Linked DNA regions of Homo sapiens: all the other regions are linked to region 1. Evidence: promoter capture Hi-C in human tissues and cell types (Jung and others, 2019). All regions are on one chromosome and are shown on one strand. Each heading gives the region's core, a stretch centred on a gene start or on the middle of the fragment in contact. The rest is flanking DNA. Distances are from core to core; before and after follow the strand shown.

Evidence for each region. The method cuts DNA at HindIII sites, captures the fragments that hold promoters and counts their contacts. A contact is called where the count stands out against the background at its distance.
Region 2: a fragment that was not itself captured here is called in contact with the fragment with the promoter of UVSSA in region 1 in 1 of the 25 tissues and cell types used here (lymphoblastoid cells).
Region 3: a contact is called between a fragment that was not itself captured here and the fragment with the promoter of UVSSA in region 1, in 1 of the 25 tissues and cell types used here (lymphoblastoid cells).
Region 4: a contact is called between the fragment with the promoter of ZFYVE28 here and the fragment with the promoter of UVSSA in region 1, in 1 of the 25 tissues and cell types used here (mesenchymal stem cells).
Region 5: a fragment that was not itself captured here is called in contact with the fragment with the promoter of UVSSA in region 1 in 1 of the 25 tissues and cell types used here (lymphoblastoid cells).

What each region holds. Positions count from the first base shown.
Region 1 is chr4:1,345,064-1,350,400 of GRCh38, forward strand. It overlaps UVSSA (UV stimulated scaffold protein A), which reads left to right and starts at 2,145. Exons shown (of 14, transcript NM_020894.4): 1 at 2,145-2,697; 2 at 3,027-3,126; 3 at 4,461-4,791. The coding sequence starts at 3,029. RefSeq lists enhancers at 1-385, 386-908, 2,754-2,833 and silencers at 1,204-1,293, 1,514-1,843, 2,084-2,523. The HindIII fragment of the contact is 13,201 bases long and covers 1-5,337 here.
Region 2 is chr4:234,879-240,215 of GRCh38, forward strand. It overlaps the pseudogene ZNF876P. Among named protein-coding and RNA genes, the nearest start is that of ZNF732, 68 kb to the right of the region's middle. The HindIII fragment of the contact is 5,262 bases long and covers 164-5,337 here.
Region 3 is chr4:271,448-276,784 of GRCh38, forward strand. ZNF732 (zinc finger protein 732) reads right to left here. Exons shown (of 4, transcript NM_001137608.3): 4 at 1-1,183. Among named protein-coding and RNA genes, the nearest start is that of ZNF732, 31 kb to the right of the region's middle. The HindIII fragment of the contact is 6,139 bases long and covers 1-5,085 here.
Region 4 is chr4:2,415,529-2,420,865 of GRCh38, forward strand. ZFYVE28 (zinc finger FYVE-type containing 28) reads right to left here and starts at 3,117. Exons shown (of 13, transcript NM_020972.3): 1 at 2,757-3,117. The coding sequence starts at 2,795. It overlaps CFAP99 (cilia and flagella associated protein 99), which reads left to right and starts at 3,427. Exons shown (of 16, transcript NM_001193282.4): 1 at 3,427-3,565. RefSeq lists enhancers at 719-1,277, 1,278-1,836 and silencers at 2,842-3,001, 3,122-3,351, 3,592-3,641. The HindIII fragment of the contact is 18,624 bases long and covers 1-5,337 here.
Region 5 is chr4:339,279-344,615 of GRCh38, forward strand. ZNF141 (zinc finger protein 141) reads left to right here. Exons shown (of 4, transcript NM_003441.4): 2 at 4,504-4,630; 3 at 5,057-5,152. Among named protein-coding and RNA genes, the nearest start is that of ZNF141, 4.1 kb to the left of the region's middle. The HindIII fragment of the contact is 3,033 bases long and covers 449-3,481 here.

The DNA of each region.
Region 1 (5,337 bases), core at 895-3,394:
GAATCCTGTGATCCGACCTTAGACTTTCAAAGGTCCCTCTGGTTGCTGCATGATGGTCTAGGGGTACCAGGGTGCAAGGGAAAGACAAGGTGACGGCAGTGACCTGCTGCAGGGGTGGCCAGGAATTGGCAGTGGCAATGAGGCAGTGGGACGTGCTCAGATCTGGATGTGTTCTGAAGGTAGGGCTGTCAGGATTTGCAAACCAAATGGGCATGGAGTGAGAGGAAGAGAGAAGCCCAAGTGAGTCAGATAATTGGTCCAAGCGAACAGAAGGATGCAGGGCAGGCCCAGGCACGGTGGCCCAGGCACGGTGGCTCACGCCTGTAATCCCAGCACTTTGGGAGGCCGAGGCGGGCGGATCACCTGAAGTCAGGAGTTCGAGACCAGCCTGACCAACATGGTGAAACCCCGTCTCTACTAAAAATTCAAAAATGAGCTGGGCGTGGTGGCGGGTGACTGTCATCCCAGCTACTCGGGAGGCTGAGGCAGGAGAATCGTTTGAACCCGGGAGGCGGAGGCTGCAGTGAACCGCGATCGTGCCACTGCACTCCAGCCTGGGTGACAAAGCGAGACTTTGTCTCAAAAAAAAAAAAAAAAAAAAAAAAAAAAAAGGCTGCAGGGCCATCAGCGGATACAGAGGGCAGTGGACGGGCAGCTTGGCTGTGCTGTTGAGCCTGAGGGCTGAGAGGACACCCCGGGGCAGTGTAAAGGAGACTGGACTTAGCAATTGGTAAGAAAAGTTGGATAAAGAGAGGGTTTTGTTAGTATGGGAGAAACGGCACCCTTTTATACTAATGAGAACTAGTAACAACAAAAAAAACCACGCTGTAGAAGACAGAGGGAAACTGCTGGATGGGTGCCTTGGAGGAAGCCACAGGCCGGGGATTGGATGCACAGGGCAAGGGGCGCTGAGGGAGGGTCTGGCTGCAGCTTGCTCAGTGAAGCAAGAGGCAGGGTGAGGAAGGGGTGAGGCGGAGGAGCGGCTCGGGGCTGGCTGCAAGCTAGGAGCTGGGAGCCACTGACGCCCAGGGACAGAAGCTGGTGCTGCAGAGAGGGGCGGCGCAGGGAGTCCCTCTTCTTTTCCTTTTTAAAATAATTGCTTTACTGAGATATAACTCACACATCCTGAAACCCACCCTGTAAAAACACGATTAACAGAGTTGTGAGCTACCACCACCGTAATGCAAGGGCACGCCCATCCCCCCGAAAAAGAAACCCCGGCCCGCCGCCGGCGGCCCCCGCCCTGCACCCAGCCCCGGGAGCCCAGTCGGGCGTCTGCTCTGCGTGGCCTGTGCCGGGCGCCCCGCGAGTGGGGTCCACACCACGCTCCTCCGAAGCCACGGTTTCCCAAGCGCGGTCTCCAGGTCCGTCCGTCCGCAGCCGACCTCGCACTCCCCTGCGTTCGAGGCTGCGGACTTCGGCGGCAGGACGGACGGCGCCTCTGCTTCTCATTCCGCCCAGGGCCAGCCCGGGCCCAGGGGTACCTGCTGTGCGTCTGGCGCCGAGGTGGGCCCCGAAGACCCCCAAGCCCGCCCAGGGATTCCCTTCCCGAGGCCGGAGCGGGGAGGCGCCGCGGGGTTCAGGGCGCCCTGCGCGGGGCGAGCTCGGGGGCGGGGGCCCGCGCCCGCCCGTCTGGGCGGTCCTCACCGGCCCTCTGCAGGTGAAGGGACCTGGCTGCGAGCCCGCGGGCGGGCGTGGCGTTGAGGCCCAGACCGGAACTTCCTTTCGGCCTCAGTTTCCCGGCCGGCCCCGCCCCCGGCGCCCGTACATGCGGCCCCTTTAAGGACTTTCTGCGCCCTCCCGCCTCTTTTTTCTCGTGCGTCCCCCTCCCCACCCCCGGCAGCCTGCCTCGCCCTCGCCGGGAGCGCGCCTACGTCACCGCGCAGACCTCGGCCGCGTCTTTGCGCCTGCGCCTCCTGGGCTGGGGTGAGCCATTGGCTGTCGAGCTCAGGGCACGTGCTAGGGGGCGGGGCCTTGACCGGAAAGGGTGGGGCAACGGCGAGAAAGGCCGCGTCGAGCGGTAGGTGCAGTCGTCGCTGTGGTGACCCCAGGTCCTGATGCGTCCGGCCCAGGGCCAGCCAATGGCGGTAGAGGTCTTGGGCACCTGACAAGAGGGGCGGTCCCCCCGCCGGAAGGGGCGGGGCGAGGCGAGCGGCCGCGTCAGCGGTAGGTGGGGCTGTGGTTACGCTGCCGGGCGGGGGTCGCGCCGGTTCGGTCCCCGGGGCTCTGCGGGCGCCGGGCAGAGACCTGCGGCCAGGGCGTGTCCCGTGTGCCCGAGAGCGCCGGCGGCGGGGCCGGAGGGCGGGCCCTGGGCCGAGTGACAGGCCGCAGCCCCCCGAGCACCGTCGAAGCCGGCGCGCCCGCCCGGTGCAGCCGCTGTGCGAGAGCGACCCCGCGGTCCAAGCCTCGCGTGGCCCTGCCGGGCCCCTTCTTTCCCCGAGTAGGGCGCAGCTTCCCAGCCTCCGCCCCGGCCTCGCCTGGCGCTTCCTTCCGGGTCCTTCGGCCTTTCCCTGGCGGTGCGGCAGGCCCTCGCCTCATCCCACCAGGCACGCCGCGGTGCTCGGCCCTGGGTATCCGGGCAGGCTGCCTCCGTTAGGGCCGCCCCTGCTCTCCGGACGCGACTTTTCATTGGTCTCAGAATTTCTTGGCTCCTCTTGGCCTCTGCAGCCTTGCTGGAGGCTGCCCTGCGGAATCTGAGTGAATAAGGGAAACAGCAACAGTCACGTTGGGGAAAAGCTGATTCGGACAGCGCCACTGGTTCCTTTAACGCACGACCCTCAATGCAGCGTCCCACACACGGGATTGTAGAGGTCCCGAGTTTAAGGTTCACTTTTAAAACTGCAATCACCGCCGTAAAGGCCTTGCTGGACACACATATTTCCCAGAGAGGCACCCACAGATGGACCCCAGCCTCAGGGTCCTCCCGGAGCTTTCGGTTTATAGTGGAACCCAGTAAACACGTTAATAACACCGAGAGCTATAAAATACAGATGGTGATATAGCATCTCTGCCTTACTTATTTCTAGATATGGATCAGAAACTTTCGAAGTTGGTAGAAGAGCTCACAACTTCAGGAGAACCCCGACTAAATCCTGAGAAAATGAAGGAACTGAAGAAAATTTGCAAGTATGTCTTAGGGTTCAGTAACAGTAACTGACTGGCCCACTGAGCCCAGGACACACACAGGGCCCTGCCCTCCTGCCCCCACCTGGGAGAGAACCACCCGAGGGACACACCCAGGACATTTTCTCGGGGCCCTGCAGTACCCGGCTCTGACGGGTGGTCATGTTCTGGGGTCGGGGCGTGTGGCGTTGGGGACCCCACTGCTCTGTGGTTGGTGCTTCTCTTCATTCCCATTTGTGTGGTCTGGAGCACATCCTGTAGGAGTTCTTGAGTGCACAAATGTGATTCAGAGAGAAACGTGCATCTTTTTCTTTGCTGCTGGACTTTTCGAAGGGAAAGAATAGAGCTTGCTGATGGGCGAGTTGGTCCATCGCCTTTAGGGTATGTCCACCTCTGTTCACTTCCTCCAAGGAAAACGCCGGAGGGGATCTCTGCCGTCACCCTCAGGCAGCCAGAGATTCATGGGGGAAGCAAAACTTCCCCTCGGAGGGTGGAGCATAAGTCGAGGACACTGATTATTCTGTATCCTGTGTTTGTAAAATGGCAGTTTATAGATTGTTTATACAGTGATGGAGTGTTGACATTTTGATAGAAAATTTCAGGTCAGGTTTTGTGGCCTGCGCCAGGAAATCGAATTCGCAATGGTTTATGTGGGGTCAGGAGCTGGGAATAGGAGCATTCAGGAGGGGCTGGGAGATGTCCCGAGCTCTAGGCCTTCCTTCCTTCCTGCAGCAGGAGGCACCCAGCTGAAACAGTGTGCGTGCTGGGCGGTGTGCGTTGTGCCAGGCGGTGTGTGTTTGTGCCGGGCGGTGTGCGTTGTGCCGGGCGGTGTGCGGTTTGTGCCAGGCGGTGTGTGTTTGTGCCGGGCGGTTGGCGTTTGTGCCGGGCGGTGGGCGTTTGTGCCGGGCGGTGTGTGTTGCGCTAGGTAACGTGTGTTTAAAGAGCCAGATGGTTTGTGTTTCAGGCTTTGCTGTAATGCCTCAGTTGTGAACACAGCTGTAGATGATGTAGGTGGATAGATGGGCGACGTTCCAATGACACTTTGTGAATGAACACCGACATTTGAAGTGTATATGATTTTCACATTTCACCAAGTATTTTTTGTTTGTATTGACATTCTTGGCTTGTGGGCCACACAGAAACAGGCAGGGGCTGGGGAGGTAGATGTGGCCCTTGGGCAGTAGTTTGCAGACCCTGCTCTAGAAAAGGGGAGAATGAAGATGGGAAGGCAGTGGTGGTCCCTGCCACACGTGCGTGCGGCATCCATGCACGGAGAGTCTCCCCCCGCCCATCCTCTGCGTGTGGGGCAGTTGGGTCAGGCCAGCTCGCATCCCCAGGTCTTCAGAGGAGCAGCTGAGCCGCGCCTACCGCCTGCTGATAGCACAGCTGACCCAGGAGCACGCCGAGATCCGTCTCTCAGCCTTCCAGATTGTGGAGGAACTCTTCGTCAGGTCTCACCAGTTCCGGATGCTGGTTGTTTCCAACTTCCAGGAGTTCCTGGAGCTCACGCTGGGCACAGACCCCGCACAGCCTCTGCCGCCCCCCAGGGAGGCGGCACAGAGGCTGAGGCAGGCGACCACCCGGGCCGTGGAAGGGTGGAATGAGAAGTTTGGGGAGGCCTACAAGAAGCTTGCCTTGGGCTACCACTTCTTAAGACACAACAAAAAGGTAGGTGGGCCTGGCCCATTTTTTCAGAGACTGGTTACCTGACGTGAGGAGGGCAGACGATACCAGGGTGAAGATGCGCCTCCTGTTGAACCTAGCACAGCAGGGGCCTGCTTGGCCTTGCCTGAACACCCAGGCTGCCAGACCATCTGTGGGGTGTGGGAAAGAGGGCAGCATCTAGGGTCACGGCCTCCCTGAGAGGGGCGGCGCAGCTCTGAGAGGAAGAGCATAAGCTTTATGTGTGGGTGGAGCTGAGGCTGCATGTGTCATTTTTTATGTGCGTGTAGGAGACAAAGGAAAAGCCAAATCCAACTTTTCAGATGCAACGTTTTCTGTGACAGTGGCCCCTGGACTCTGGGACCTGTCCCAACCTTGCACTTTAAGGCTCCACCCGCACCCTACTATGGGCTCGGGCTGGTGCCTGGCATGATGAAACCCACCAGGATCTGCCACTGTGGCCTGAACCCAGCCTCATTGCCCAGACCCTACCGTGCCCCTTACCCCACCTGCCACGAAGGCTCAGTCCTCCCCAGTGCAATGACCCAGCCC
Region 2 (5,337 bases), core at 1,545-4,044, 1.1 Mb before region 1:
TGGAAATCAGATGTCCATGAGTTCGAAGCAGAGTTTTCAGATGTGGTTATTGTAAATATAAGTGCAAAATAGAAATGAGACTTAGTCCTCCAACTGGAAAATAAAGGAAGAGCATTTACTCTGCTCCCTTTTCTAAAAACCTTTGATTTAGAAACTTTTTATATGTAGATTACTTCTCTGCCATTTATCTTTTTTGTTGTCTTTTAAGTATCTAATTTATCTCTATTGGAGGTCTAATTTTTATTATTTTACTATGCTAACGTTGGGATTAGTTATTTTTCAAGTGTTTTGAGGATTAAAGTTTCATTATTTGAGATCTTTTTTCTTAATATAAAAATATATTACTATAAAATTCTTAGAACATCTTTTGTTACATTTCAGTTTTGATATGTTCTGTTTCTATTTTCAGTTTTCTCAAGATACTTTGTGATTTTTCTTTCTTTTTCTTCTTTACCCAGTGGTTGTTCAGAAGCATGTTGTTTAATATACACATATTTGTAAGTTTTTTACTTTTCCTTATATTGATTTCTAGTTTTATAAAATTGTGATTTAAAAAACATGATATGATTTCAATCTTTTTAAAAATGAAAAGACTTGTTTGTTTTTGTTGTGGGCCAGATTTATGATGTGTCCTGGAGAATGTTCCATGTGTGTTTGAGAAGAATATAAATTATACTGTTGGATGAAATGTTCTATACACGTCTGTTAGGTGCAGTTTTATAGTGCAATGCAAGTACATTGTTTTTTCACTAGCTTTCTGTCTGACTCATGTATTAAGTAGGGCAGTAAAGTCCCCTATTATATCTGTCTGTTTCTTTCTCCAGTTTTGTTAATATATGTTTATATATTTATGTGCTCCAATGTTTGGTACATATATATATTTAATTATGTTTTGACAAATTAGGCTCATCACAATACAATAAAATTCTTTTTTTCTGATAGATTTTTTTCTAGAAGTCTATTTAGTGTGATGTAATTATAGCCACTCCTACACTCTTTTAGTTATTATTGGCATAGAATATTCTTTTTCATCCTTGTACCATTAACCTATGTACGTCCTTAAACCTAAAATAAGTCTCTTGTGCACAGCATATTGTTGACTTTTTAAATCTATTCAGACATTTTGTGAATGTTTCCTTTTTTTTTTTTTTTTTTTTGCTTCAATAACAGAATATCCCAGAGTTCGTAATTCATAAAGAATAGAATTTACTTAGCTCAGACTCCTGGATGCCAAGAAGTCCAAGAGCATGTCATTCCCATCTGATGAGAATCACATTTCCACATCACAACATGACCAAAGGGTTGAGGATGACAGAAGGTGTACACCAGTGCTCACTTTTATAATAGACCCACTCTCATGATGACTAATACACTGTGGTAATACTGATACTAATCCTTTCATGACAGTAGAGTGCTCATGACCTAATAACTCTTAAGGGCCTCATTTCTTAATTTTCTCACAATGTCAGTTAAATTTTAACATGAATTTTGGAGGGGACGCTCAAACTATAGCAATGTGTTTTTATTGGATAACTAAATCTTTATATATTTAAATGAATTACTGATTGATAAGAACTTACTGCCATTTTCTTACTGTTTTCTGACCATTTAGTAGTTTGTTTTTTCATTGTTTCATGCTGTCTTCCCCTGTATTTTCTTGAATTTTTGTTGTTTTTGTTGTTATATGCATTCTTTTTCTTTTGTGTGTAACCACTACAGTTTTTTTTGTAATTTCCAGGAAGCTTATGTAAAACATCTCATAGTTATAAAATCTAATTTCAGATAAGAATTTAGCTTTTGGTTTGTATAGATAGGGTCTTGCTTTGTTACCCAGTGTAGTGCAGTGGTACATTCATAGCTCAGTGCAGACTTGACCTCCCCAGGCTCAAGCAATCCTCAGCCTCCCAAGTAGCTGGGACTACAAGCACATGCCACCATGTCTGGCTAATTTTTTTAGTATTTTTTGTAGAGACAGGGTTTTGCCAAGTTGCTCAGGCTGGTGTTGAACTCCCGGGCTCAAGCAGTCCACCTGCCTTGGACTCCCAAAGTGCTAGTATTACAGGCATGAGCCATCAGGCCCAGCTGCTTCTTTTTTTAAAAGACTAAATAGCTTTCTGAGATCTTTATTTAATTTTATTTATGTACTTATTTAAGAGACAGGGTCCTGCTATATTGACCAGACTAGTTTTGAACTCCTGGCCTCAAGCAAAAGTTAGCTTCTATGTATAGAAAAATTAAACAATTTTACTCCCTTCAACATAGTATTTATGTCACACTCTACATCTTTTTATATCGTATACCCTTTAACAAATTATTGAAGCTATATGTAGTCTTAATAATTTTTTCTTGTAGCTTTTATACCAGAGTTAAATGTGATTAATTCATTCACCATAATTAGTTTTATAGCCTTCTAAATTCGACTATGTATATATGATTTTCAGTAAGATTTATAATTTTGTTGTAAGTTTGGATTCCATTACAACTTAAATTCTCATTAGCATTTGTTGTAAGTCAGGTCTAGTGATTAAAACTTTCAACTTTTTTTTAATCTGAGAAGATTTTGATACTTCATTTCTAAAGAACAGCTCTGTCAGGTATCGTCTTCTTAGTTGTCAAGGTTTTTTCTTTTTCTTCCTTCATTTGCATTTTAAATATATGGTTTCACTCCTGTGTGGCTTGCATGGTTTTTGCTGGGCAATCTGCTGATAACCTTATAGGAGTTCCCTTGAATGTGAAGAATCTCTTTTCTCTTGCTTTTTTTTTTTTTTTTTTACTTTTTACTCTTTATTTTAGGTTTTGCAGGCAAACCCCAGGTAAAGGGTTTTCTTTTTTTAATTTTAATTTTTGTGAGTATGTAGGACATGTATATATTTGTGTGGCACATGAGATGTCTTGATCCAGGCATGTAATGTGTAACAATCACATAATCAAAAATGGGGTATATCCATCCCCTCAAGCATTTATAATTTGGGTTATAAACAATCCAATTATGCTCTTTTAGTTATTTTAAAATGTGCAACTAAATTATTATACTCATACTGGGTATTACTCATTCTTTCTTTTTTTTTTCTTTTTTGTTTGTCTTTGAATTTTGGCAGTTTAATTATAATGTGTTCTGGACAATTTCTGTTAGATTCTTCTTGCTATAGACATTTTGAGCTTTTAAATTTAATATCTATATTCCTTCCAAGATTGGGAAGAATTTAAGACATTATATCTTTAAACAATTTAAAAATTTTTTTCTTTCTCATGAACCTCCTAAAATTGTACATCCTTACCATTGATTATGAAATATGGGGGACAAATGCTTTATTCACTCGCATTCTTTTTTTAAATTCTAACTAGGAACTTTCAAATAACTTTTACATTTGCTGATTTTTTTTTTCCTGTATAACGGAGTCTCCTGTTAAAGCTTTCTCTTAAATATTTTAGATCTCCTATTGTGTACTTCAGCTCCAGCATATCTAACTGGTTCTGTTTTAATGGTTTCTCTTTATTATAATTGTGATTCTGTTCATACGTTGTTGCAAAAAAAATTTAGTAATGTGTGGTTTTTTTGCATCTCATTGAGATTCTTTAAGATAATTATTTTGAATTCTTAGCCATTTTTTAGATCTGTGTTTTACTGTAAGTGGTTACTAGAGAATTTTTAGTTTCTTTTGGTGGTGTTACATTTGCCTGATCTTTCATGGTCTGTGATGCCTTGTTTTTATGTCCTTGCATCTGAAGGAGTAAATATCTCTTGCAGTCATTATAGATTAGTTTGGGGTGGTAAATATTTTCTCCTATTGGATCTCTGTGCTGATGAGATTTCCAGTGAGTTTGCAGTAAGGTGCATTGGATCTGGATCACAGTGAAGTTCATGCTTGGCAGACCTGTTATTAGGGCATCAGACTGTTGTGGATTCTGTCTATTTTCTAGGAAGACTGAACTTTCTTCAGGATCTTGATCAGTAAGACTGGTGCTGAGAAAAAAAAGTCTCCAGTTGTATATGCAGATGACAGAGCTGATATAATCCATGTGAGCAGGTATGGCTTCTGCTGTGTGGCTCTTGCTGGGTTTTTAGAAATCTTCTAACCCAGTCATTGGACAGATTCCTAGATGAGAAGTACTGACCCTTGGTCACAGCTGAGAGGGTGTGGAACTGATTCATAGGGCTGCTTCAGGATACACAGCTGAGACCAAAGTCTTCAGGTTTGTTTCTGGGTTCACGGCATTTCTCCCTCCAGATTCCTGGGTGGGCAGGACTGCTCCCAGACTTTAGTTGACAGGGACTGGAGGTAGGTTTTGGGACTGGAGGTAGGTTTTGGGACTGGAGCTGGGTTTTAGGACTGCTTCAAGATTCACAGTGGGAATAAAGTCAGCCAGCATGCCTACAGGGGCACATATAGGTGTGTTTTTTGGCAGGTCCCAGGTTAGGAAAAACTGCTTCTGGACTTTGGTTTCATGGACTGGGAGCCAGATGATAGTGCCACATCAAGATCCACCATTAAATAAATATCGGCAAGCCTACATCCAGGGGCACAGATGGATGTTTCTGTCGGTTCCTGCATGTGCAGGATTTCTTCCACATCATGATAGATGTGTGCAAGGGGCTAATTAGGAGACTACAGAGAGGAGCAACATCTAAAGTCCTTTCACCTGAGACACAGGACATTATGAATCCTCCTTGGTGTCTTGGCAGATGGTGCTAGTGGCATAAACAAAACCAAATGGCCTACAGCTATACTTACAATGAGAATTAATCATATTTTATTTTGTAGCTGGGACTATGATGGGCAAGCATGCCACTCAAGCAAGGGCATGCCCTCTCAATACAGCCCTCCTGTCTTGGGTTTACACCTTTTGACATGGATTCCAAAGTTCCTATAAAGGTTCATTTGCCAGGGCATAACTGCTGCATTTTTTTATAACCATATAAGATTTAGGTAGAGAACCTCCTATTCTGCCATCTTGCTATGTCACTCCCCTTGTATGTTTTACTTTGATTGTTCTGTGTCAAATATTTTTTATTTCAAATTCAAAATGTCTGAAATAAAATGCTTAAATTTTCAAATTGTGGAATAAGTAAATGTATTGAAATGCCTCATTCTCATCAGAGCATTTTATTAATTATTGAGATTATTTTCTTTTATTGCTGTACCTTGAATGCCAAAGATTCAAAATGCCAGCTCTTCATAAGTACATAGTCACAGTTGAAAACTGTAAAGGATTGTTTTTATGATACATCTATATGATATTCAATATTTTAAAGGTCAGAAATTTTTATTCTTGTTTTCAACCCCATTTTAGTGGTTTGTTTTTAATCTTTATATTTGTATGGTAACTTTAAACCCT
Region 3 (5,337 bases), core at 766-3,265, 1.1 Mb before region 1:
CCAGTATGAATTTTCTTATGTTTACTCAGGTATGCAGACCATCCAAAGGCTTTGCCACACTCTTCACATTTGTAAGGTTTCTCTCCAGTATGAATTATCTTATGTTTATTCAGGTCTGTGGACCATCCAAAGGCTTTGCCACACTCTTCACATTTGTGGGGCCTCTCTCCAGTATGAATTCTCTTATGTTCATTAAGGGTTGTGAACCGACTAAAGGCTTTTCCACATTCTTCACATGTGTAGGGTTTCTCTCCAGTATGAATACTCTTATGTTTATTAAGGGTTGCGGATTGTCTAAAGGCTTTGCCACATTGTTCACATTTGTAGGGCTTCTCTCCAGTATGAATTCTCTTATGTTCATTCAGAACTGAGGACCTACTAAAGGCTTTGCCACATTCTTCACATGTGTAGGGTTTCTCTCCAGTATGAATTCTGTTATGTTTAGTAAGGGTTGTGGACCTATTAAAGACTTTGCCACATTCCTGACATTTGTAGAGTTTCTCTCCGGTATGAATTTTCTTATGTTTGGCAACATTTGAGGATGAGGTAATGATTTTGCCACATTCTTCACATGTGAAGGGTTTCTCTTCAGCATGAATTCTCTTATGCTTAGTAAGGGTTGAGGACCTATTAAAGGCTTTGCCACATTCTTCATATTTGTAAGATTTCTCTCCAGTATGAACTTTATGTTTAGCAAAGTTTGAGGATGTGGTAAAGATGTTGCCACATTCTTCACATGTGAAGGGTTTCTCTCCAGTATGAATTATCTCATATTCATTAAAGATTAAATACCATTTAAAGTCTTTGCCACATTCTTCACATGTGTAGGGTTTCTCTCCAGCATGAATTCCTTGATGTTGAGTTAGGTCTGAGAACTTCTGAAATGACTTGCCACATTCTTTAAAGTGTTTCTCTCCAGTATGTCTTATCCTACGTTGGTTTGAATTTGAAAATGTACTAAATACTTTGACATGTACATTACACTGAAATATTTTGCTCTGGATAGTTGACAAGCATTGATTAAATTCATTATAACCTCCTTTCTGCACCTTCCTTTTACAGCTTTTTCTTAATTCTAAATTCTCATGTCCACATTTCTCATATCTTCTTAATATAAGTTTGTGGAACGAATCTTCTATCCCCTGCACTGGCAAAAAGTCTTGGGTGAAATGAGAACACACAGCTGAAAGAAATAAAAATAAATTATCCTGCTTACTAGATTCATACGAATATACTTTAAAAATCTAATATATAAACTTATACAAAGTACATTAGTAAGATGGCATAACAAAATACCACAGGCCATAATTTCTTCACAGACATATATATGTAACAAACATATACTGATCAAAATGCCTTTTAGTGAAATTTATAAATGAGTTACATGCAATGCCTCAGGTAAGCACAATGCCAAGAGCCACATAGAACAGGATACAAAGTTTGTTACATTTACCAACCACAGTTCTTCCTCCTCCCCAATATAGCACTGTGCCATTAGAAGTAAACTGTCAACTCCTGTCTTCTTACTTAAAAGAAAAGAAAAATACTGACACGTATCCTTACTTCTGGCTTTTGGGGATCTTTACAAAAACTGGTTTCTGCCTCCAATAACAAAGAGTGCTGAAAGAAATGGTGATATACTTAGGAAGGACAGGTTGGGTCTGCTAAGACCAAATGTACATGTTTCAAGAGCAGACTGAAGTGCTAAATACAGACAACAGACCAAGTGATTAAAGACTCTTAAGAGGAAACATGAACAAACCCTTTTAACTAAAAAATAAACACAAAATTCTAGACAAGACACATCCTTCCAACATGTATGAGAGGTTACTATAATCCGTATCAAAGACAACTGGCTTCAGACTATGTCAGGAGAAAACAACATTGTAAAGGTTGTGATAAATAGCTTTTGGTTAATGTTCAAATAACAAGCAAATATTATAATGTATACAAAATATTAGAACATGGTCTAATTAAACAATTTAAAATTTTTCAGAAAACAACCATAAAAACAAAGATGTACAAATTTTTAAAATGTAACCTGAATAATGCTGAATCAGCTAAATGGAAACACGTACAACTAAATGTAATCAGAAAAATGAGAACATCAATGAAAACATTAAAAACAAAAAACAAATCATGAAGGTGAAAAATGCAAAATAAAGACAGAAATTTTCAAGTTAAAAAAGGATATAAAAACGGAAGAAGCTCAACAAACTTCAACAAGGTTACACACACAGATTTACAGCAAAGCACATATATAAGCAAAGTTTCAAAAATCAAACTCAAAAACGACATCTTAGGAGCTGCAAAATAAAAGTGATGTGTCATTTATAACTGTGGTCTTAAAAGATTACCAGTGAATCTGTCAACAAAACTATTTCGCAACAGAAAGAATTGGGATATTGTTAAGGTGCTAGGAAAAAAAAAAAAAACTTCTATGTGGGAATCATATAACCAGCAAAACTGTCCTAAAAATGAAGAAAGAATAAAGACCTTTCAAGATAACCAAATGCTGAAAAAGTATATTAGCACAACACGTCTTACCAAAAAAATGCTCAAGAAAGTATCTTCCAGTGAAAATAACATAATGTAAGAAAGCCAAACATAATCATATGAAAATATATAGCTTTCTGAAAAAGATATGCACATCCACAAAGTTCTGTACCACTATCATATTACAGAAAATATTGTAATTATTCTCTAAAATTTTAAAGAGGAAAGCATAAAAATGATCATAAACTGTTCATCATAATCTGGTAATAATACACAACAACAATATGATTACTGACATCAATAATGAAGTTGAGGGCAGATGTAATGAGGAGGAATTTTCAAATTCAATGGAAGTTAAGTTTTTACCAGTTTAAAATATATTATTTTAACTTAAAGAAATTTTATGTAATTCTCAAGATACCAGAAAAAAAGTATCTGTATAGATACACCAAAAAATAAGAATTAAAGGTGTATCAATACAAAAATAAAAAAGACTAAGGAAGACAGAAAAAGAAAATAAGGGACAAAGATAAAATAATCCAGTAAAACAATAAGATGAGTAAGTCTATTTCAGCAAATTATTCAAATATTTATGAAGTAAAGTTTCCATTCAAAATACATGCACCAAATAAGGGGATTGACTGCAAAAATTAAAAAACAAGATCCAACTTGCTTTTCTACAGGAGTCACTTGAGATGTAATGATTTAAAAAGACTGAAAAAGGCAAAATGAAAGAAGAGATTTCATGCAAATAACCAAATAAGAGGTCCAAATTATGTAATACAAAGTACATCTTAAGTCAAAACTGTCCTATTTCATAAAATATACTTTAAAAAGTCATAAGAAAGAAGGACATTAAACAATAATAATAATAAAGGTTCATTTACTGGGAACTAATGACAAACATGTCTATACATACGTTAATATGTGTGTGTGTCTCCCCCACATTGAGTTCCAAATATACAAAGCCAATACTCACAGAATTAAGACAAAGACAGCAATATAACTATAGTAGGATATTTAAATACCCCAGTTTCTGTAAGGAATAATGAAACAAGATAAAATATTCATAAGGAAACAGGAGACTTGAAACCAGTATTAAACTATTACGCCTAACAGAACTGTAGAGAACACTGCTCAGCAACAACTAAATACACACCCTTCTCAATACCTCATACAATATTCTCCTTGATAGACTACATGTCAGGGCACAAAAAAAGTCTTAAAGTTTTAAAATTGAAATTTTACAGATTACTTTTAATGACCAAACTGGAATGAGAGTAGAAATAAAGAAAACTAAAAAATTTACATATTTATAGAAATTAAACAACACACACTTAAGCATGCTCTTGTTCAAAGTTTGAAATAATGAGAATATCTAGACTGCTCAATATAATCTACAGATTAAATGCAATCCCTGTCAAATTTAATTAAATTATTGTAGTAATAGAAACAACAATTCCCATATTATATGGAATTAAGAAACAGTGAAGTACCCAACAATCTTCAAAAACAGAAGCAATCTCAGAGGCTTCACAGCTCCTGATTTCAAAACACATACAAATCTAAAGAATTAAAGCAATCTGGGATAGGTATAAAGCTGAACAGCTAGATCAACTAAATAAAATCTGGCAAAAATATAAACTCTCACACATGGTCACATGAAGAGTAATTTAGACACTCATAATTATTGCAGCACTGTTCCTGAAAGCAAATAACAGCAACGCATATTTCTCTCACTAAATAAATTGAGAAATATAATTTCAATTATTAAAATAATGAAATATTACTCAGTTTGTAAAAAGCAAAAAATAAACAAGTACAATAAAGATAAATCTTGATGACATTATACAACAAAAAGTCACGAAGAGACAAACTATATGAATCAACTTACACGAGATATCTAAAGCAGTTTGACTTTAAAATAAAAAACAGAATTGTTTGTGTAGAGTGAGAAAACAGAAAAAGTAGGTAGTTATATTGAGTGTTAGCTTTGCAAGATAAACATATTCTAAAAATATAGTGCATAAAATTATTAATAAAATGACTAAGCTGAATATTTAAAAATATATAAGATTTTAAATGTTATGCATTTTTGAAAACAATATATAAAAGAGATGGAGGTATGAGTTTTGGAAATTATCTTCAAATCACAAAAGTGTTACACACACACAAATATAGATTTACAAATAAATAGAGGGTAAAATTAGGAGAATTTCAATGACTACTCACCTAGGCAGGGTAAAACCACCATTGTTACACACAAACAAAATAAGTATACAACTTAAAAACAATAGGGAAACAATATGCAGAGAGATAAACACAGAGACTCTTATATTGGAAATAGATATATCACTGATCCATATTTGACTTATGCTCCACAGTCTTACAGTGTACATAGCTGAATGCTGTCATAGACAATAATAATACTAAATAAAAGCATCCTTGTTGTGTTCCAGATCTCAGATAAAAAGTTTTCTGCTCCTTCCTATTCAGTATGATTTCAGCCATTAATCTGTCATATACAATCTTTATTGCACTGAAGTACATAATATCTATACCTAATTTGTTGAGTTTCTTAAATCACAAAGACATGTTCAATGTTGCCAAATGCTGCTTCTGCATCAACAATAAAAAATAAAGATTTCTAGTAGCAAACATAATTAAAAAGGTGAACACTCTTTACACTGAAAATTGTAAATAATTAAAAAGTGAAAAAGACATGAAAATTTGAAAGATATATATTGCTCATAAAATTAAAAAATATGAAAGTGGCTATACTACTCAAGGTGATCTATAGATTCAACGCAATCTCTTATCAAAATACCAATGATTTTTTTC
Region 4 (5,337 bases), core at 1,867-4,366, 1.1 Mb after region 1:
GAATTCAATTAAAAATTCAGTTTGAATTGTACATCTATCTAAATACAAAGTGGGAAAAAAATTCCTGACTGCAGGCAACAGTCTCCCCCAGACACATCCTCCCACAGCTAATGTTTAACACTTCAACTCTTCCAGGCCCAGAATCTTCCCAGGACTGACTTTGTGCTTATTTGTGCCAAAATGTGTTAAATTAGACAGGAAGGGGAAGCATAAAATTCAATTCATAATCCAAGGCAAGAATCTGAGCTTTGGTTTGAAAAATGAAAAGCTATGGAGTGACATAACATACTCCGACCCTTCAAACAATCAAGATATTTAACTCCAAAGACATTTCTCAAATAAGAGACAGCCCAAGTTCAGACTGCCCACAGGGCACCAGCTCCCAGAAAAATGCTATGGCCAGAGACAGATCTGAAATGGAGATACGTCTCAAGTCCAGAGCTCTGGAGCTACTACCAGACAGCATGCCAGGAGAAGACAACGAGAAAAAGGAGAGATCCACATCAATCCTGTTCCATCCCTTCTCCGGAGGCACACAGCTCTGGGCTGATCCCTGGGATCAGCTGATTCACTGGCTGTGCCCTCTTGGTGCCCGCCGCCTGCCTGGAAAGGCAGCTGCCTGCTGAAGAGGAAAAGTTGGGAACGCAATTCCTAATTCTCAGGACAACGTCTAGTACCATGTTCTACCTTTAACCTGTCTTCCCTAAACGGAAACAGACAAGGCCATCCTGAAATTACTCAGCTACTCATGAAACAGAGTCTACAATTATTTTTCCTTCCTTTTCAACACGATTAGAAGGGTGATCCCCCAAATGCGGCCTCTTCCACAGCCACGTCCGGAGGGGCATCCCCTAGTGTCCCAGCAAGTGCCTTCAGCGACACCAGAATGTTAGTTAAGACCTAAGACACATTTCTCCAGCTGCCTCCCGCCATTTGTCACAGAAAATAATGCTGCTGCACGCCCCCAAAACGCCGTTTTACAAGCAGACTTGGTTTTCAGTAACTGGTGAGGAAAAGTCACTGGAACCAAACACCATTCATACAGCTATCCAGAGCGGAGGCCACCGCCCTACCCCGGCAGAGGCACATGGGGGCAGCAGGCAGGACCGAGAGGGGCTCGAAGGCGCCGCAGGAGGAGAGGCTGGGCGCAGACGGCTCGGCCCCAAACCACACCCAGCGCCAGGAAACGCAAGGCTCGGGACGAACCCTTAAGAAGTCGCTGCTAGGGACAGGGAGGTTGGGAGCAGGGAGTGACGCCACAGGAACCCTGAATCCCCCCGAGTCCCCTCCCAATCAAGCCAAGGCCGAGCAAGGGGCGCCCCATGTACCGTAAGCCCTCAACCCAACACTCCGGCAACGACAAACAGAATTCCCCGACCTCAAAGGCCGTGAAGCACGCGCCCTTCGGGGCCCTGAGTGAGCCCTCAAACCTCCGTGCCGATCTTCCAAACCCACCTCCCGCCTTCCTGGAATGGGCGCACGCGAGGCACGGATTTCAGGAAACCTCTGCCGTGACAGCTCACCCACGGTGGAGGCGGAGGCCTGGGACGCTGGACGGAGAAAGGCGGCCAGTGGAGGGAGGAGGGGTAGGTCGGCAACGCGGTGGCCTCGGACGTCCGAGCTGCCCGGACGAAGCGCTGGCCCCACTCCCGCCCTTGGTCGCCGCGGTGACCCCACCCGAGCCGTGACCTCCCCCAAGATCTCAGGGCCCGGGCCTCCCCGCTGCGCCGGCCCCAGGGTGCCACCCTCGGACGCCCAGATGCGCCCTGGACCCTGCGCCGGGATCCTGAACACCGCCGCGCCTTCATCCCGCGCCGAGCGCGCCCGGCCCTGCTCCGGCTGCAGCGGGCACGAGCCCCAGGCGGGCGGCGGGGACGCAGCGCCCGCAGTGCGACTGGCGCAGCCGCTGAGGCACGGGGCGCGCCGCCCGGACCCCGACCCCGCGGCGCTAGGAGAGGCGCGGGCGCCGGCTGGAGAGCCGCACCTCCCGCCCCGCCGAGGCTGCTGGCCACGGGCGCGCTCGCCCCAAGGGCCGGGCGGAGGACCTGTCCCGGATTCCAGAGGACGTGGGTGGGGAAGGGACAAGGATAGGGACAAGGGAGGGGACGCGAACTGGGCCGAGGTGTGGGTCAGTCCTGGTTCGGGAAGGGAGGCCGTTGGCAGGGCCATCAGGATCCTCTCTGGACATGGAAGGACGGGTCTGCCCTGGACCCAGGGATTGGGAAATGTGGGTTCTCTCAGAACCTGGGGAAGTGGGGAGAGGGTCTGTTCTGGAGTGCGGAGGGAGATCTATTCCGGGCCCAGGACAATGGGGGTGGGGGCAGGACGGGAATGAGGGGGCATTCCTGGTGCAGGGAGGGGAGACGGAGAAGTAGTAGGGGGTCTGCTCCGGGCCCGCGGGCTGGGGACCACGAAGTGTAGGAGGGCACCGTCCAGGACCGGGATGAGGAGGGAGAGGGGCCCGTTGTGGCCCTGGATAGAGGGGGAGGGAAAGTGCGCCCCGGCCCGAGAGGAGGAGCAGGAGGGTCAGTCCTGGACCCGGGCTTAGGAAGCCGGGAGGGAGGTTCGGATCCGCCTCAGAGACAGGGCGATGAAGATCTGTCCAAGTCTTGGAGTGGAGGGAAGGATGTCGGCGGTGGGGGAAGAGGCCGGCCACGGACAGGGAAAGGGAGTCCGTCTTGTAGGGCGGACGGGCGGTCCTGGGGAAGGGAGAGGCCGCGACGCGGGGGGCGTCCGGCCCGAGCGGGGCCGCTCACCTTGGGTTTGTAGAGCCACTTTCGGAACCTGTTCATCATCGCCGCGCCGGCCCTGGCCGGACTCCGGGCGGCCCTCGCCCTCCGCAGCGCTGCGCCCGGGCCCGGCTGAGGCGCGGGGCGGACGCGGAGGCACGGCCGGAGCCCCCGCGCTGTCGCAGGGAGGCTGGCTAGCGAAGCCCGGAGCGCCGAGCGGGCGGCGGGCAGGTGCGCGGGGCAGGTGCGCGGCCCTGAGTATGCTCTGCAAGCGGCGCGCCGGGCAGACCTCAGACCCGGGAGTGGGCGCTCGGGCGCACGGACAGACGCGGGCACGGGGGCGCGCGGCTCCTCGCTGCTCACTGACACCCAGCGCTCCGCTGGTCACGGCCGCCCCGCGCCGCACATGCGCCTAGGGCGCCGCGAGCCCCGGGCCCACCGCGCGCTGCGGGCGGGGCGGGCGGGGCGGAGGCGGCCCAATCCCTGCGCGGGCGCCGCACCCCGCCCGAGGCGCGCTCCCTGCCGGCGGGGCGACCCGCCGCGCCCGGGTATCCAAGAAACTACAAGTCCCGAAAGGCATGGCGGGGAGGTGGCGCCCAGGGCTTGGCGTCCCGGGCCGCGCCGCGGCGCTGTGTATTGTGGGAGTTGTAGTCCACCCGATGGCGGCGGAGCGTGCCGCCGGTTGCTAGGTGACGACGCCAAACAGCCGCGGCGTCCTGCCTACCGGGAGCTGACGGACGACGACTGCCAACACCTTAGCCCCAGCTGGCCCAGGAAACTGCTGCGGTGGCAGGTGGCGGCGGCAGGAGGGCTCGGCTGCCCCGAGCGCCCGCCAGGTACGGGGGCGGGACAGGTGCGGGGCGACGCGCCGCCGATTTTCATGACCTGCCGGCCGGTTCCCTCTCGCTCGCTGCTCATCTTGCTTCTCCCAAACACCTCTTCTGTCTTCTTCCCAGCTCCCCGATGAAAGTGAACGGTGCCTCTTTTTTTTTTTTTAAATCACCACTATCAGCGGTGCGTTCTAAAAAGATACTCTTCCGCCCTCGCTACTCCCCCCAGTGGTGCCCTAATTTGTACCTTAAAACGCTCACCTCAATCTGAGTACCTGCTATGTGTCAAGCAGAGAGCTAAAAACCCACACGTGGCCTCACTTAAACTTCCCATTGACAGCCAGAGAAGCAGGCACAACGAGGCCGGCGTGCCCTGGCTGTGGGGGTTGCATCCAGATCACGGCGGATCTGGGTCGGCCTGACCCCACAGCGCTGCACTTTTCCCTGCCGCACCACCACCACGTCTCTGGCTTGTTGTGAAACGTGCAGATGTAAGACACAGGAGATGGAAGTCATGCCCCCCTCGGTTCAGAATTGAGAAGTCTGACCTGTTCCTGCTTGTCCTCACTGGCCAGTGCCAGGTGCTCAGAAAGGTCCGTGGGCTCCATGACCACTTTATTCCAACAGACGCGATGTGAGCCTAGGCGCGCTGGCATCTAAGATTTCTCTTAGTTGGGGGTAGGGTCCATGTTTATTTTTGAGTAACTGATTGATTTTCCCTACTCTCCTCTTCCTACCACCCAGTCGACCCTCTGAAGGGCAAAACCCCTCTGGAGTTTCCCCTTATCTCCAATTCCTTCCCACTTGTTCTTTCTGGAAACTACTCCCATCAGATTTTCACCCAACCACTCCTCTGAAGCTCTTTATCAAAGTCATCCTTGACCTTGATGTTGCAAAATCCGATGATCGGGGTCAGCGCTCATCTCTTCCTTGAACTGTCACTACCACGTGACCCAGCCGACTGTGCCCTCTCCGTGACACAGCATCCTCACTTGGCTGAAACAGATCCCACTGTCCACTTCTCCTCCTCGCTCCTGGCCACTCCTGCTTGATCTCCTTGGCTGGATGCCTCCCCTGCTCACCGACCTCTCAACACTGGAGACCCTGGACTCAGTCCTTGGAACCTACTCTATCCACTCCCTCCCTGGGGGATTTCCTACAGTTACATGGTTTTATAAACAACCATTTTCTCCCAAACTTCTCAAAACCTATATCTCTAGCCTCAACCCTGAAACTCCAGACCTGTTTACCTGTTCTTCACCATTTGGACGCCTAACAGATCCTCTCAAATTTAACGTGTCCCAAACCACACTCTCAGTCTTCCCCCATAAAACCTGCTGCTCCCAAAGCCATCATTTCTTCAGCACAGGATCTTGGGGTAGACACTTGATGGGCTTGTCCACTGAGTGAATGGCTGTTCTCTGTGGGTCTATCCTTGGCCAACTCCAAGGCCTGGAGCAGTTGTATCTGCTCAGAGGCTCCCTTCCTGTGTTTTATAGTTTGAAATTGTGCATGGGATGAAGGCTGAACTTGGGGAAGTGGGGTATCAGTTAGGTTTAGCTGCATGTATTGAAAAATCCCAACATCACAGTGGCCTAAACAAGAATATTACTCATATTTTTATAAAAGAGGTCCATGGAGAGGCAATCGTGGTTGGTATGGCAGCCCTAAAGTCCTCAAGGATCAGCTTTTCTATCTGCCATTCACGTTTCTTCATGATCCAGGATGGCTGCCCACATTCCTGCCATCACCTCCTCGGCCCAGGAACCAGCTGCAAA
Region 5 (5,337 bases), core at 715-3,214, 1.0 Mb before region 1:
CTGATCCTAATCTCCTCTGCCTTTATGGGCTCAGGAATCAGTTAGAGCTTAGCCCTGCCTGGGCCTGAACTTGTAGCACAAACCAGTCCTTTCGTCAATCCTGCCTTGCCCCCACTCAAGGCTCTTGATAGCACCTTTCTTCTGCTCTTTTCTTCCCCACAAATCCTCTTTCCTGTGCACACAGTTTGCTCAAGTGCATCCCTCATGTGCTACAAGAATTCAACGTTAGTGAGTTCAAGACCATGCCTTTAGACCTGCCTGTTGTAGGACCAAATACAAATCAGAAGAGGCTTAATGCTTTCTCTTTAGAATGAGGAAAGAATTTTTACTCTTCTCCCTTAAAGCATTTAGTTTGAAAACTTTTATATTTAAATATTTTCTCTGCTTCTTTGAAATATATATAACTCATTTTAATCTGTTAACTAGGTGATTTGTCTTTTTTGACTCAAAATTGTCTTTAGGACATGGAAACTATTGCTTTGAAATGTGCATAGCAAGAATATATAACCTATTCCGCAATTTCTGTAGCAGAGTAGGAGGCTGCCTTCAGCAGGTACCTGCCTTCACATATCAAATCTACCTCCTGTCCTGAAGCTGTGGGAAGTTTATTTTCCCTTTGAATATTACCAATTAGGAAACCCGGATGACCTCCCAAATTACTAGGTGAAAGTGTAATAAACTATGTATGATACATGGTACTGTCAAGTCTTCTACTTGAGAGCTAATTATGGTGACTTTCTTTGTTTTGGCAGTCTCTTAGTAGACTGCCTGTAATGCACACCACATTTTGTTTAATTCTCTAACAACACATTTTCTTGCTGTTCTATTATTTTGGACAGTATTTTAGGATTGTAGATGATTTTGCTGTTATATTTTCCACACGCTGTCAAGAATTACTAGATGTTATACACAAAGTGCCCACCAGGCTTCGTTTTAGAGAAGAACCTTCTTTCTCAGGATTCCAGTCACAACCCACAGTTGTGCAGCAAAGTGCACGAAGTGCAGCAAAGTGCTCCCCAAAGCTGCAAACAAAATGATCTCTCTATTTGGGATCTACAATCCCTTCTATAGCAGTTTGACTAGATTTCTACAAAAATGACTTTTTAGGATAGCGATCAGTTTTTCCACCTCTTTCAGTGTGCCAATGATCTTCAGATCTGACACTGATTCAGAAATCATGGGGCCCATAAATCCAGCGAGGTTCACACATGTGCATTGATTAAACCTGAGAACTTCCATTCTCTCCCTTCTCCCCTTGCCCAAATGCCCACAAATGTGCTTACCAGCCCTCCAAGTCTTAAATGTGCAGTTCCAAATTCTGAGTTTATGTCCTGGGATTTGAGAGAAGAACAGAACTTTTGTTTGAGAAATACAAGTTCTTTTAATTACGAGACCAAGTGATGTGTTAAAATGAGACCACAGTCCTACCGTTCCCCTCTTTGAACTGTTTGTCTTTTGAAGTTGTTTGCTATTGCCACAAGTGGATATAAATTAACCTAATAATGCCATACTGGACACTATAACCCACACCTTATAGCTTAACAACGTACATAGCCAATCACTAACCAATGTTACTTCTATAAACCAATAAGAATTTCTGACAGCTTTCTATCAGTTCCGTCTGCCTTTCTTTTTGCCTTTAAAAATATACTTGTAACTGCTTCTAATTGGAGTGTATATTCAGGGCAGCTTTATAGTCCAGGGTTGCAATCTTCAAGCTTTGGCCCAAATAAACTCTCTTCTTATATTATGTTTACCCCACCTTTTTCCTTTTAGGTCAAAAAAACATTTTTCTTTTTTTTTTTTTTGAGACAGAATCTCGCTCTGTCGCCAGGCTGGGGTGCAGTGGTGCGATCTCGGCTCACTGCAACCTCCGCCTCCCAGGTTCAAGCAATTCTCCTGCCTCCGAGTAGCTGGGATTACAGGCGCACGCCACCATGCCCGGCGGATTTTTTATATTTTGTAGTAGAGATGGGGTTTCACCATATTGGCCAGGCTGGTCTTGAACTCCTGACCTTGTGATCCACCCGCCTCAGCCTCCCAAAGTGCTGAGATTACAGGCGTGAGCCACCGTGCCCAGCCTGTTTTGTGAGTTTTGATGCCATTATGTGAATGGCTATTCATTGACAGAAGAGAAGTTGTTATTATTTGTATTGTGTTTACCTTGCTAAGAATAAATATTTAGCTTCTAATATAATTGTTCTAGAGAAACATAAGGGTTTTGGTTAAATTCCTTGTTACTGTATGTTATACAAAAGACAGAGAAGTGGCTAAAATAGATTAAAATTTCACAAATTCTGGGAATCAAATTTCTCTTGGGCAGGCTTAGAAAAGACAAAACCGAAAGTACTTAGTGACATAGAGAGCAGAAGCCTAGGGCCCACTTTCTGTCCCATCCCTGCCCAGATCTACCCTCTTCTGATCCTTGTCCAGGTCTGAGCCAACACTGAAATCTCTCACAGAACTGATTAATAGAGGAGATCAGAGTTTAGGGTGGCTACTCCAGTCTCCTCTCCAGAGCTGGTGCCCACAATTTTCTGAAACCCAAAAGCCAATAAATAGGGAAAAGCTATATACTTTGGGGCCTTAAATCTTTTCTATAAAATTAAAACTAATGTTTCTAGAGACATCCCACCCAGCAACCTGTTCTCTATCCCTGCAGTTTCAGTGGCTTTTTCTTACAAGTCTCAAAGTAAATACAAACACAAAAATAAAAAAATTCCTCTGAATTGTACTTAACACTTTCTTTGGCTCTCTCCCATCTATTTATATTTAGCTATTATTCTATACATTTTTTTAAAAAGTCAGGGGAAACAGAAAGGAAATGGAAATTCTGGGCCCTGCCTTTAAATCTGGGAAGTATGGGACACCTAGTGTCTACCTCCCAGGATGTTATGAGAATTAACACACATAATATGAGCTTCCCATCACAGTGCTCTGTGACATACATCTGAGCACATATTACATGCCCCATAAAGATGGCATTAATGCAGATGCACATGTTGTTTTTCAGATACAGACTTACTCAGACATTGCCACCGTCTCCAACTTCTGTAACCTTATAGGGTCTGCAGAGAATGCCATGTTTGAAGATGATGATTGGTGGTCTTGGGATGAAAAGTATTTGTGTTGTGATAACGGTGTTGGGGTAAGGGACTCTGTGTGCTGTGTCTGCTTTCTCTAACTGAGTGGTACTATAATGGGTCTAGAGGGAGGAGCGTCAGCATTAACAGGAGACTTGCTGTAAAAAGCTAATTCATGGACCCTTTTCAAACCTGCAGAATTTTGTTACTTACAGTGAGGCCTACAATATCAAATAATGTATATGTACAATGAAGCTTGAGAGGCAGTGCTTAGCTAAGTGACTCTCAGCCCAGTCTTCCAGTAGGATCACATGGACAGTTTGAAGAGAAACCATCAGCTGTGTTCTGCCCACAGATCCTGTCCATTGTTCTGGGTGAAAAGTCCTTATTTATTTTATTTTTGATTGTTGTTGTCCCAGATTTATTGAAAATAATACAGCACTACAGAAAAAATTCAAACAGGTCCCCGAGGCATTTTGAAATTCATCCCAACTGTAGGCTGAGTGACCTGAAGGTTGAACAGACTGCCGAAGTCCAAAAGCTTCAGCATTTCCTTAGTGTCAGGATCTACTTCAATTATCTCCTGATCCAAGGCTGAGACCTTATTTTTTAAAATCAGTTCCTTGCGTGGTTAAAAAAGTATTAAAAAAGTTCCTTGCATGATTAAAAAAGTATTAAAAAAGTTCCTTGCATGATTAAAAAAGTATTTAAAAAGTTCCTTGCATGATTAAAAAAGTCCTTATGTTTTAAAATCAGTTCCTTGCATGATTCTACAGCAAGGCCAGGGTGAAGCATGAGGGCTTCCAGATACTTTAGTGAAAGGTGAGTTCACCCTTTGTTCCAGGAGGTCACAGGGCCTACTCTGCTTGATTTTGGTAGGGGAAGGTCAGTGTAGCCCATTATTTTTATTGCAGCAACAGAAACTCTTGGAATGCCATCCTTTTTCTGCAGAGCTATAGAATACTTTAGAGAATATTACTGCGTTGAAAGTTATTTTATCAGATAATCCCAGTCAGTCACATGTCAGAACTAGCGCTCTCAACTCATTTCACCTGTAGTCAAATTAAGAACTATGTCCCTTCGGCTGGGCGCAGTGGCTCACGCCTGTAATCCCAGCACTGTGGGAGGCCGAGGAGGGCGGATCACAAGGTCAGGAGATCAAGACCATCCTGGCTAATATGGTGAAACCCCGTCTCTACTAAAAATACAAAAAATCAGCTGGGCGTGGTGGCGGGCACATGTAGTCCCAGCTACTTGGGAGGCTGAGGCAGGAGAATGGTGTGAACCTGGGAGGCGGAGCTTGCAGTGAGCCGAGACTGCGCCGCTGCACTCCAGCCTGGGTGACAGAGCGAGACTCCGTCTCAAAAAAAAAAAAAAAAAAAAAAAAGAACTATGTCCCTTGATATATTTGTATTTTCAGGAACTCTTAACATTCAGGGATGTGGCCATAGAATTCTCTCCAGAAGAGTGGAAATGCCTGGACCCTGACCAGCAGAATTTGTATAGAGATGTGATGTTGGAGAACTACAGGAACCTGGTCTCCCTGGGTGAGGATAACTTCAATACATAATTCCTAATTTTTCTCAGAGCTTTATTTTATTCCTTTGAAGAATTTCTCCTGGGAACTTTTATGTTTTATCTTTACATAAACCTTCTCTTTTCTTGAGCTAATTTGAGTCCTTCACTCTAGGTTAGTGGTAATTCTAGAAATTCAATGACATAAAATATTGTTTCCCACATCTTAAAATCCAATTTGCACCACTTATTTTTTATTCGGTAGTACTTGGTAGTGGAACTTAGAACCCGCAGATTTAAAATACTTAAATATTCTAAAGATTCTGTCAGGAAACAATTTTTGGATTAATTTTCTAGAATCTTCCATAATATCTCTATTCTGCTTAGCGTAGTACTAGGTTGGTAATTGGAGAATCCCCATCAATAGTCATGTTATTATTTTTTTTAAAATAAAACAGGTGTTGCTATCTCTAACCCAGACCTGGTCACCTGTCTGGAGCAAAGAAAAGAGCCCTACAATGTGAAGATACATAAGATCGTAGCCAGACCCCCAGGTAGGTGAGAGTGAATGGAGGAGAGGGCACAGGCAAGGGGACCAAAGGTCAAGAAGGAAGCCAGGCCTTAAAATGTGGTTTGGGGCCGGGTGCAGTGGCTCATGCCTGTAATCCAAGGACTTTGGGAGGCCGAGGCAGGCGGATCACGAGGTCAAGAGATCGAGATCATCCTGGCCAACATGGTG